Linked DNA regions of Homo sapiens: regions 2 and 3 are each linked to region 1. The links are contacts of gene promoters, found by promoter capture Hi-C in human tissues and cell types (Jung and others, 2019). All regions are on one chromosome and are shown on one strand. Each heading gives the region's core, a stretch centred on a gene start or on the middle of the fragment in contact. The rest is flanking DNA. Distances are from core to core; before and after follow the strand shown. Region 1 holds the start of CAPS (calcyphosine). Region 2 holds the start of RANBP3 (RAN binding protein 3). Region 3 overlaps FUT3 (fucosyltransferase 3 (Lewis blood group)).

Region 1 (3,838 bases), core at 417-2,916:
ACCGTGCCCGGCCAGTTTATTTACTTATTTTTAAGAGGCGGGCGTCTTGCTCTGTAACCCAGGCTGGAGTGCAGTGGTGCGATCATAGCTCACTGCAGCCTCCAACTCCCGGGCTCAAGTGATCCTCCTGCCTCAGCCTTCCAAGTAGGTGGGATTACAGGAACACACCACCATGCCTGGCTAATTTTTTGTAGTTTTTGTAGAGATGGGGGGGTCTCACTATGTTGCACAGGCGGGTCTCAAACTCCTGGGCTCAAGTGATCTTCCTGCCCTGGCTTCCCAAAGTGTTGGGATTACAGGCATGAGCCACCGCGCTCAGGCAAGGCAACTTCTGACAATATAATTGTGCTGTGAGCGAGGTAAAGCCAGGCTTGGAGAAGGCTCCGATTGATGATCCTTGGGTCGGGGCGAACAGTGGGTCCTCAAACAGGGCCCACGTTTCAAGTCCTGGAAAACCCACCTATCTTAGCGGGCAGGTATATCCGATGTCTCCGTTGAAGGCCTTCAGTGAGGTGGCTTCGTCTCTTGAGGTTTATGTCCAGGATCAGGGCTGCTCTTCCACTCGGGGTCACAACCTCTGGCTCACCACCTTGTCAGGAGCCAGCCCACTAAGTCACGTTTCAGGCCTGAAAACCAACAACAAAAGATCCGTAAAGACAGAAATCCTGGGACTGGCTCCTAACAACGGCCAGTGACAAGCTTTGTGGCAGTGAGCAGAGGTGTCCCTCAGGCTCAGCTCAGTCTCTGTGGGTTGCAGGACCTGCCCTTGGAGGTGGGCCTGGGTGGGAGGTCTTAGGGCCCCAGGACCTGGGCCACCTGGGGCTTTTTTTTTTTTTTTCTTTTTGAGATGGAGTCTTGCTCTGTCGCCCAGACTGGAGTGCAGTGGTGCAATCTTGGCTCACTGCAAGCTCCACCTCCTGGGTTCAAGCGATTCTCCTGCCTCAGCTTCCTAAGTAGCTCGGATTACAGGCGCCCACCATCATGCACGGCTAATTTTTGTATTTTTAGTAGAGGCGGGGTTTCACCATGTTGGTCAGGCTGGTCTCAAACTCCTCACCTTGTGATCTGCCCACCTCGGCCTCCCAAAGTGCTGGGATTACAGGCATGAGCCACCGCGCCCAGCCCACCTGGGGCATTTTTGTTGCTGTACAATAGAAACAAGTTCTCTATATGTTCCCCAGGCTGGTCCAAACTCCTGGGCTCAAGTGATCCTCCCACCTAGACCTCCCAAAGTGCTGGGATTTCAGGCATGAGCCGCAGTGGCCGGTCAGAACCTGGGGCCCTTTTGAACTTTGATTCCTCAGCAATTTTGTCAGCCCTGGCTCGGGCTGAGAAGCCCCTGTGAAGCCAGAGAGGGAAAGGGACCTGTCCAGGGTCACACAGGAATCATGCGTCAAGCCTCCCCAGCCACGGACTTGTCTCCATCCAGGGCATTTCAGCCCCTGCAGGGCAGTGGCCTGCCCCTCCTCCTTGGAGCCAGGAAGGGATGCAGTGCCACAGGGATCTGGCTCTGTCCCAGGCCCTGTGGGGCTGGCAGTTGAGTAAGCAGTCAGGCTGGGCGCACCCATCCCTCCCCCACTCCCCACTGCCCAGCACAGTGCATTCATGCAGCTGGGCCCCACCCCATCTCCAGAGGCACCTTCCACTAGCAACAGTCTCCCCAGGCACAACACAGCTAACACAAGGCCCCGCAGGCAGGACTCTGGGACAGACGCAGGCCAGGTGAGCATCTGAACAAGGGGCAGTCGGCCAGGGTGGGCTTGCGGGAGTCCCCACCTTGACCTCTCTCCCTTCCAGCTGCCCAGAGCCCAGACCAAGCATGGACGCCGTGGATGCCACCATGGAGAAACTCCGGGCACAGTGCCTGTCCCGCGGGGCCTCGGGCATCCAGGGCCTGGCCAGGTGAGCTGTCCCCTCTCACCTTCCTGACCCCGGCCCCTGAGACCACTGTTCCAACCGTGTCCCCTGCCTCCAGGTTTTTCCGCCAACTAGACCGGGACGGGAGCAGATCCCTGGACGCTGATGAGTTCCGGCAGGGTCTGGCCAAACTCGGGCTGGTGCTGGACCAGGCGGAGGCAGAGGGTGTGTGCAGGAAGTGGGACCGCAATGGCAGCGGGACGCTGGATCTGGAGGAGTTCCTTCGGGCGCTGCGGGTGAGCCCCCACCTCACAGTCAAGGCGTGTGCCCTGGGCATGGGGCGACAGAGGATGCTGAGATGCGGAGACGGGGACTCCTCCCTAAGAGCTGCTGTTAAGAGGCGCCTGCTGGGGCATACAGCCCCAGTGCTCTGCACAGCGTCTTGGGGGTTTGGGTGTGCTACCCACCACCCCCAGTCACCACCTCCTGTCCCAGCCCCCCATGTCCCAGGCCCGGGAGGCTGTCATCGCAGCTGCATTTGCCAAGCTGGACCGCAGTGGGGACGGCGTCGTGACGGTGGACGACCTCCGCGGGGTGTACAGTGGCCGTGCCCACCCCAAGGTGCGCAGTGGGGAGTGGACCGAGGACGAGGTGCTGCGCCGCTTCCTGGACAACTTCGACTCCTCTGAGAAGGACGGGCAGGTGGGTGGCTGCGCGGGGGGCCCCCTCCCCAGGCAGTTCCTCGGCCGTGCCCCCTCACGGCCCTCTGTTCCCAGGTCACACTGGCGGAATTCCAGGACTACTACAGCGGCGTGAGTGCCTCCATGAACACGGATGAGGAGTTCGTGGCCATGATGACCAGTGCCTGGCAGCTGTGAGCAGCTCCGGCTCAGCCCTGCTGCCCTGGCCTGTCACTCCCCACCCCTGCCGGAGACCTCCCTTCCCTGGGCCCCTTCTCTCCTGGGCAGCCACACCACAGAGCGGGGAGGGGCAGGTGGGGGAATGGAGGCTGCAGGACTGGCTAGACCAGGTCCCTGCCGGTCCACCAGGCGGAGGTGGGACAAAGGTCCTAACAGGAGTCACTGGCTCAGGACCCCAGGGAGAAACGCTCTCCCCACCCACGCCATGCTGACCAGAGATCTTGCAGCCCCTGTGGATGCCCCCGCCGAGGTCCCCCGATCCCCGCACCCGGACTGCTGCTCCCTGCCCCTCCCTTGCGGGTCCCCCAGGAAGCCAGGTGACCCCAGGTGGGAGGCTGTGTGTGGAGGCCATCCTGGAAGGAAGTTTAGACCTGCCCAGGTGTGGAGCGAGGGGCACAGGGGCATCCTAACCTCAGAAACTGAAATAAAGCCTTTGAAAAAAAAATCTGTAAAACATCAACCCCCAATCAGAAGATGGCAAATGGGGAATAAAAATAGCAGGTAACATGTCCAGCGGGCCCAGTATCTACATTCTGGTGAGCGGCCCGAGGCTGGGAGCTCTGGGCGGGGGCAGACCGGCGGGGCCTTGCAGCAGGGGTGGGGGTAAAGTGCGGGTGGTGGTGGAGAGAACAGGGCTGTGGCTGGACCCCAGCACTGGTGACACGCTGGGTGGGAGCATGAGGCCCCAGGCTGCTGGAGGTCCTCGCCCGGGGAGGTGGAGGCCGTTCCTGGTCAGGGGCTTCCTGAGGCCCCTGGGGCATGCAGAGGCCAGGGTTTTAGTTAAAAGTTTAATGTAGTTCCCAAATACATTTCATATGACAATCTTACATAAATGTTCCAAAACACATGGGCGTTATCTCGTTGTACTCGTCACTAGCTGGCTAAGGCTTAAAGCAGAGACGTGTGACTGGGTCTCTCGGGAGGGCCTCTGGTTCTTCCCGGGCTCAGGCTTGCTGGGGGCTGGGGGCCAGGGCTCTGGCGACCTAGAGGTGTGGACGGCACAGCTGCAGGAGGCCTTCTCTTAACCCTCCGAGAGTGGGACTGGGAGATTTCCTCTGAAG
Region 2 (3,838 bases), core at 836-3,335, 64 kb after region 1:
CCCCTTTGGGAATAATTTTAAGGTAGAAATGATAGTATTTGCTGTGCAGTATGAGAAAGAGGGAAACCAGGGGTGACTTCAAGGTTTGGGGCCAGAAGAATTCAAAGAATGGACCTGCCTAACTAACTACAATGGGTGAAAGACCATGGGATGGGCAGGTGTAGTGGGGGAGATAAGGATTTTGTTTTGGAAACGCTCTAGACTTACCTATGACACATCCAAATGGAGATGTCGAAATGTGATGCTGGACATGAGTCCTGAGTTCAAGAAGCTATGTGGGCTCAGGATGTAAATACATAAAATATGTCATACTGATTCCCACTTACCCAGTCCCTCTGTAACTAGATCTCATGAGTTGGAATGCTGCAACCCTCCATGGGCTCCTTTATCTTAAAAAAAGAGATGTAGCAGCCGGGTGCGGTGGCTCACGCCTGTAATCCCAGCACTTTGGGAGGCCGAGGCGGGCAGATCACGAGGTCAGGAGATGGAGACCATCCTGGCCAACATGGTGAAACCCCGTCTGTACTAAAAACACAAAAATTAGCTGGGTGTGGTGGTGCGCGCCTGTAATCCCAGCTACTCGGGAGGCTGAGGCAGGAGAATCACCTGAACCCGGGAGGCGGAGATTGCAGTGAGCCGAGATGGCGCCACTGCACTCCAGCCTGGCTACAGAGCTAGACTCCGTCCCAAAAAATAAAATAGAATAAAATGGCCAAGAATCAGGGAGAGAACCTGTGCTGCTGCCTGTACAGATGCCCAGCGCCCGCCCAACACCACACAGAATCAGAATCTGCAGGGACTGAGCACCCGTGGTCTGGCATCTGAAGCCAGGCCATCTTGGTTCACATCCCTGCTCCTTCCCAGCTGTGTGACACGCCTTGGATAAGCGACTTAACCACGTTGACTCAGTCTCCTCATCAAGTGAATGGGGCTAACAGTATCTATACCTCCTACCAGGGAAAACAGTATGTCAAGACTTTGCACCACACCTGGTAACTACCCTAAATGCTCCACAAGACCAAGCACTTCCTATCATCATTCATTCATTACTGCAATTCGGTAGGGAAAACCCTCCAGTCACAGGGAGCACCGAATGGGGGAATCAGAGCCAGACAGGTAGAGAGCTTGCCTGCATTTGTGCAACTAGAAAAGGGGGGGAGCTAAAAATAGGCCTCAGAAGTCTTGAAGCTACAGCGATGGCAACACGACTATGGATGGAAGCAGACATCAGCCTTATGGTGCCTTCTCGGGGGATCTGGAAGTGTAACCTTGTCAAAAACACTCAGGTGGGCTGTCAGCGCTCCACAGAGGAGGGACTCGCACGGTCTCTTGTCTGGAAGTGCAGCAAAAAGGGCCAAAGAGCAGCCAGGGTTTTCGGCGGCCCAGATCCTGCGGCGGGGCCTAAATGAGGGGGAGACGAAGCGCCCCGAAGGATCCGGGGGGAACTGGCGGGAAGTGGGGGCCGAAGTTCGGGGCGGGGACGGGGTGAAAACGGCCTGGGCTTCCTCCGTCCGCGGTGTGCGGCTGGCCCGCGGAGGACGAGGGCCTCACGGGCTTAGGAGATAGGCAGCCAGGCCGGGGAAGGGGAGATGCCGGGTGGCGGAGGACGAGGGGGCGGGGAGGGAGCGTGGCGCGCTCCGGGCCACAACCAGGCCCTAAGGTCTATTTACATCCGTGGCCGAAGCACTGGGGCCGCGCCTCCCGCCCCCTTCAGCCCCGAGCTTGGCTGCGACGCAGAGGGGCCTTAGGGCTGCGATCCCGATGGCCACCCGGCTCCTCTAGCCAGACGGCTGCAGTGGCTGGGGTTGCCGGGAGTGATGGGCCGGGCCGGTGAGCCCGGCCTGAGGGGACGCAATAGGGGGCGGCTGCAAGGCCCGCCACGGCGCTAGCCTGGAGCGGACGAAACCCTTGCACTCTGCGGTGCTCCCCCCAAGGGCTTGTGGCCCCTAGTCCTCCCGCCGCCCGTTCCCCGGCCGCCAGCCGGTCCCCAACGGCGCCTCCCCTACCTTCGTTCGCCAGGTCCGCCATTTTACTTCCTTAAGCCCTCCCACAAGGCCCCGCGCCGGCCCAGGCTCGCCTGCTTTCTGCCAGAAACTCCCGCGCGTGCGCACTTAACAAGCCGACTCCGTGTGAGGCGGCCAGCTCGCGCCTGCGCGCTGAATGCCGCGCGGAGGCGAGCCCCGGATCGCCTGCCCTGCAGAGCAGCCTGCCCTGACGAGCCGCGCTCCTAGCACGCACCTGCGCACGAGCCATCTCCCGCCTCCTTTTCCCGCCGACTGAGAGGGCGGGGAAAGGGCCGGGAAGGGCGCATGCGCAGTGGCAGCGACTAAGGTTTAGTGAGGCGGCACCGCGCGGCCCGAGGCGGGTCTTGAAGCACTCGTTTTCCCACTCGTTTTCCGGGGTTCCCCCGCGGTGGGACAGTGAGCAGTTCAGGGCGCCGCAGCCGAGGCCTTCCTCCAGGTAAATCGCCGGGCCTGCGGGGGCTTCCCACACGCGCGGGCGGGAGACGCGTTGCCTCCTACCTCAGTTTACCCGCCTTAGGAGCCGGTACCTTCGGCAAACGCTTTCCTGAAACCACGGGGGAAGTGGCGAGAGGGCGCGGGGTGCTTGGGATTGGGGGGTAAATCAGAGCTCATCGGCGGGGGCGGGGGTCGTGGTCAGGCTCTAGGAGGGGGCGCAGCCCTGGGACCCAGGTGCTGGCGTTGGGGGCGGGGGGAGCCGGCGCGAGGGACTCGACCCCTCGGAGCTACGAGAATCAACTTCACAAGCTCATGGGAGGGGAACCGCGCGCCTCCAGGTTACCCATCTGTAAAATGGGACCATCAGCCTCACTCACAAGGCTCATGGGAGGGTCCTGGACACCCTGGAGTTGTTCTCTACTCACCTGCTATGAATCTCTCAGCAAATCCTTCGGACTTGGCCTTGCCTCCAAAATACAGCCCAGAGCCACCCATTGTCACCCCCAGGCTGTCACCACCCTAGGCCACATCGTCCGTATCTATCTCATGGAAGACTTGGACAGCGGCCTCTCTGCTATCCTTTGCTGCATTCTTTTGAAGCCCCAGGCTTGGTTCTGCACATGGCCGCAGGCTGAGGAGTCTTTGAAAAATATAATCAGCCAGACGCGGTAGCTCACCCCTGGAATCCCAGCACTGCGGGAGGCCAAGGTGGGAGGATCGCTTGAGCTCAGTTCAAAACCAGCCTAGGCAACAGAGCAAGACCCCATCTCTACAAAAACACAAAAATTACCCGGATGTGGTGGTGCAAGCCTGTGGTCCCAGCTACTTGGGAGGCTGAGGCAGGAGGATCACTTGAGCCCAGGAGGTTGAGGCTGCAGTGAGCTGTGACAGTGCCACTGCCACCATCCTAGGGACACAGCAAGAACCTCCCCCATATATATACACATATATACTTTGTTTTTATCTATATATATACACACAGATATATACATACACGTGTGCATATATATGTGTGTGTGTGTATATATATATATATACACATAGACTGAAAATGGAAATATCAAGGCCACTCAGTGCTTCCAGAGGGCTCTCAGCTGAACTTGGAATATCCTAAACCTTGTATTCAGGTTTATGAAGTCCCCTGAACTTGGCTCCCATGCCCTGCTTTGTTCCCCCTTGCTCATTGCTGTTCAGCCGCGTGGGTCTTTCCATCCTTGGAGCACAAGCTCATTCCAACCTAAGGGTCTTTGCACTTGGTCGTCTCTCTGCCTGGGACCTTGTGTTTCAGGTCTTACCTAGGTTGGAGTCCCAGCTCTGCACCTTTTTGAGTATGATCTAAAAGAGAGCGAGGAGTACTACAATCTGTGGGCCAGATATAG
Region 3 (3,838 bases), core at 485-2,984, 59 kb before region 1:
GTCCAGGCATTCTTTTTTTTTTTTTTGAGACGGAGTCTCGCTCTGTCACCCAGGCTGGAGTGCAGTGGCGCGATCTCGGCTCACTGCAAGCTCCGCCTCCCGGGTTCACGCCATTCTCCTGCCTCAGCCTCCTGAGTAGCTGGGACTACAGGCGCCCGCCACCATGCCCAGCTAATTTTTTTTATTTTTAGTAGAGACGGGGTTTCACTGTGTTAGCCAGGATGGTCTCGATCTCCTGACCTTGTGATCCGCCCACCTTGGCCTCCCAAAGTGCTGGGATTACAGGTGTGAGCCGCCATGCCCGGCCGCGTCCAGGCATTCTTTTACACACTGGTCCCTCCCTAGTCTCTGCTCCCAATGCGACTCGTCCCAAATCTTTCTTCTTTCTCTCCTGTCTGTTCCTTCAGTCTGCACCCCAAGCTCTGAGTCCTTTGAATCCTCCTTTTCTACGAACCCATCTGACCTCTCCCCTCCTCCCCAGGCTGCTCCTTGCCAGGCAGAGCCAGGTCCCAATTCTTCCTCAACCTCCGCTCCCCCACCCTATAATCCTTCTATCACCTCCCCTCCTCACACCCGGTCTGGCTTACAGTTTCGTTCCGTGACACAGCCCTCCCCCACCTGCCCAACAATTTCCTCTTAGAGAGGTGGCTGGAGCTGAAGGCATAGGCAAGGTTAATGCTCCTTTTTCTTTAGCTGACCTCTCTCAAATCAGTTAGCATTTAGGCTCTTTTCCATCAAATATAAAAACCCGGCCCAGTTCATGGCCCATTTGGCAACAACCCTGAGATGCTTTACCACCCTAGACCCAGAGGGACCAGAAGACCGTCTTATTCTCAATATGCAGTTTATCACTCAATCCGCTCCTAACATTAGAAAAAACTCCAAAAATTAGATTCCAGCCCTCGAACCCCACAACAGGACTTAATTAACCTTGCCTTCAAGGTATACAATAATAAAAAAGATACAGCCAAGTGGCAACGTATTTCTGAGTTGTAATTACTTGCCTCCGCTGAGAGAGAAACGCCAGCCACATCTCCAGAACATGAGAACTTCAAAACGCCTAAACCACATCTGCCAGGCATTCCTCCAGGACCTCCTGCCCCAGGATCTTGCTTCAAGTGCCGGAAATCTGGCCACTGGGCCAAGGAATGCCCGCAGCCTGGGATTCCTCCTAAGCCGTGTCCCATCTGTGCAGGACCCCACTGGAAATCAGACCGTCCAACTAGCCTGGCAGCCACTCCCAGAGCCCCTGGAACTCTGGCCCCAGGCTCTCTGACTGACTCCTTTTCAGATCTTCTCAGCTTAGCGGCTGAAGACTGATGCTGCCTGGTCGCCTCGGAAGCCCCCTGGACCATCATGGACGCCGAGCTTCGGGTAACTCTCACAGTGGAGGGTAAGGCCATCCCCTGTTTAATTGATATGGGAGCTACCCATCCACATTACCTTTCTTTTTTTTTTGAGACAGAGTCTCTCTCTGTCACCCAGGCTGGAGTGCAACGGAGCAATCTCGGCTCACTGCAACCTCCACCTCCCGGGTTCAAGGGATTCTCCTGCCTCAGCCTCTCGAGTAGCTGGGATTACAGATGCCCGCCACCACACCCGGCTAATTTTTGTATTTTTAGTAGAGATGGGGTTTCACCTTGTTGGCCAGGCTGGTCTCGAACTCCTGACCTCAGGTGATCTGCCCGCCTCGGCCTCCCAAAGTGCTGGGATTACAGGCGTGAGATACCACACCCAGCCCACATTACCTTTCTTTCAAGGGCCTGTTTCCCTTGCCCCCATAACTGTTGTGGGTATTGACAGCCAAGATTCAAAACCCCTTAAAACTCCCCCACTCTGGTGCCAACTTGGACAACATTCATTTATGCACTCTTTCTTAGTTATCCCCACCTGCCCAGTTCTGTTATTAGGCCGAGACATTTTAACCAAATTGTCTTCTTCCCTGACCATTCCTGGACTATAGCCACATCTCATTGCCGCCCTTCTTCCCAAACCAAAGCGTCCTTCGTGTCTTCCTCTTGTATCCCTCCCACCTTCACCCACAGGGAGGGGACACCCCTACTCCCTCCCCGGCAACCAATCACACGCCCGTTACTATCCCATTAAAACCTAATCACCCTTACCCCGCTCAATGCCAGTATCCCATCCCACAACAGGCTTTAAGGGAACTAAAGCCTATTATCCCTCGCCTGCTACAGCATGGGCTTCTAAAGCCTATAAACTCTCCTTACAATTCCCCCATTTTACCTGTCCAAAAACTGGTCAAGTCTTACAGGTTAGTTCAGGATCTGCACCTTATCAACAAAATTGTTTTTCCTATCCACCCTGTGGGGACCAACCCGTACACTCTTTTGTCCTCAATACCTTCCTACACAACTCACTATTCAGTTCTTGATCTTAAAGATGCTTTTTTCACCATTCCCCTGCACCCCTCATCCCAGCCTCTTTTTGCTTTTACCTGGGCTGACCCTGACACCCATCAGTCCCAGCAGCTTACCTGGGCTGTACTGCCACAAGGCTTCAGAGACAGCCCTCATTACTTCAGCCAAGCTCTTTCTCATGATTTACTTTCTTTCCACCCCTTTGCTTCTCACCTTATTCAATATTTTGATGACCTTCTACTTTATAGCCCCTCCTGCAAATCTTCCCAACAGGACACCCTCCTGCTCCTCCAACATCTATTCTTAAAGGGATATTGCGTATCCCCCTCCAAAGCCCTGATTTCTTCCTCATCCGTTACCTACCTCAGCATAATTCTTCATGAAAACACACGTGTTCTCCCTGCCGATCATGTCCGGCTGATCTCTCAAACCCCAACCCCTCCTACAAAGCAAAAACTCTTTCCTTCCTGGGCATGGTTGGGTACTTTTGCCTTTGGATACCTGGTTTTGCCATCCTAACAAAACCATTATATAAACTCACAAAGGGAAATCTAGCTGATCCCATAGATCCTAAATCCTTTCCCCACTCCTCTTTCCGTTCCTTGAAAACAGCTATAGAGACTGCTCCCACACTAGCTCTCCCTGACTTAGCCCAACCCTTTTTCCTTACACACAGCCGAAGTGCTGGGCTGTGTGGTCAGAATTCTTATACAAGAGCCAAGACTGTGCCCTGCAGCCTTTCTATCCAAACGACCTGACCTTACTGTTTTAGGCTGGCCCTCATGTCTACATGTGGCAGCAGCCACCACTTTAATACTTCTGGAAGCCCTCAAAATCACAGGCCAGGCTCCACTTGCCCTCTACAGTTCTCACAACCTTCAAGCGTTAATATCCTCCTCACACCTTTCACACCTACTGTCTGCCCCTCGACTCCTCCAGCTCTGTTCACTGTTTACTGAAACCCCAACAGTAACTATTGCCTATGGGCCCGATTTCAACCCAGCTTCTCACTTAACACCCAACACAAGTCCTGAACCACATGACTGTGTTTCCCTAATACACATAGCATCTTCCCCCTTTCCTCAGATTTCTATTCTTCCAATTCCAAACCCAGGCCACACTTGGTTTATCGATGGCAGTGCTTCTAAACCCAATCAATTTTCACCAGCTAAAGCTGGATATGATGTCTTGTCCCACACCTTTATTATCGAAGCTGCTGCACTTCCTCCCTCCACCACTTCCCAACAAGCCAAACTAATTGCTTTAACTCGTGCGCTCTCTCTTGCTAACAGAATGCACATTAACATTTACACTGACTCCAATATGCTTTCCACATCCTCCATAACCATGCTGCCCTCTGGGCTGAAAGAGGCTTCCTTACCACACAAGGCTCTTCCATGATCAATGCCTCCCTAATAAAGGCCCTCCTTAAGGTTGCTCTCCCGCCGGCCATGGCT

The links. Contacts are between HindIII fragments. The study calls those that stand out against the background at their distance.
Region 2: a contact is called between the fragment with the promoter of RANBP3 here and the fragment with the promoter of CAPS in region 1, in 3 of the 25 tissues and cell types used here (adrenal gland, dorsolateral prefrontal cortex and mesenchymal stem cells).
Region 3: a contact is called between a fragment that was not itself captured here and the fragment with the promoter of CAPS in region 1, in 2 of the 25 tissues and cell types used here (H1 embryonic stem cells and IMR-90 fibroblasts).

What each region holds. Positions count from the first base shown.
Region 1 is chr19:5,912,588-5,916,425 of GRCh38, forward strand. It overlaps CAPS (calcyphosine), which reads left to right and starts at 1,667. Exons shown (of 5, transcript NM_004058.5): 1 at 1,667-1,722; 2 at 1,798-1,902; 3 at 1,976-2,153; 4 at 2,353-2,559; 5 at 2,634-3,624. The coding sequence starts at 1,820. The coding sequence ends at 2,735. It overlaps RANBP3 (RAN binding protein 3), which reads right to left. Exons shown (of 17, transcript NM_007322.3): 17 at 3,552-3,838. The HindIII fragment of the contact is 10,666 bases long and covers 1-3,838 here.
Region 2 is chr19:5,976,055-5,979,892 of GRCh38, forward strand. RANBP3 (RAN binding protein 3) reads right to left here and starts at 2,086. Exons shown (of 17, transcript NM_007322.3): 1 at 2,007-2,086. The coding sequence starts at 2,028. RANBP3-DT (RANBP3 divergent transcript) reads left to right here and starts at 2,349. Exons shown (of 4, transcript NR_046376.1): 1 at 2,349-2,460. RefSeq lists silencers at 1,870-1,979, 2,210-2,379, 2,430-2,479. The HindIII fragment of the contact is 11,015 bases long and covers 1-3,838 here.
Region 3 is chr19:5,853,270-5,857,107 of GRCh38, forward strand. FUT3 (fucosyltransferase 3 (Lewis blood group)) reads right to left here. Exons shown (of 3, transcript NM_001382750.2): 1 at 3,763-3,838. LOC101928844 (a long non-coding RNA gene) reads left to right here. Exons shown (of 4, transcript NR_110740.1): 3 at 1,302-1,393. Among named protein-coding and RNA genes, the nearest start is that of FUT3, 1.9 kb to the right of the region's middle. RefSeq lists a silencer at 1,846-2,233. The HindIII fragment of the contact is 5,809 bases long and covers 1-3,838 here.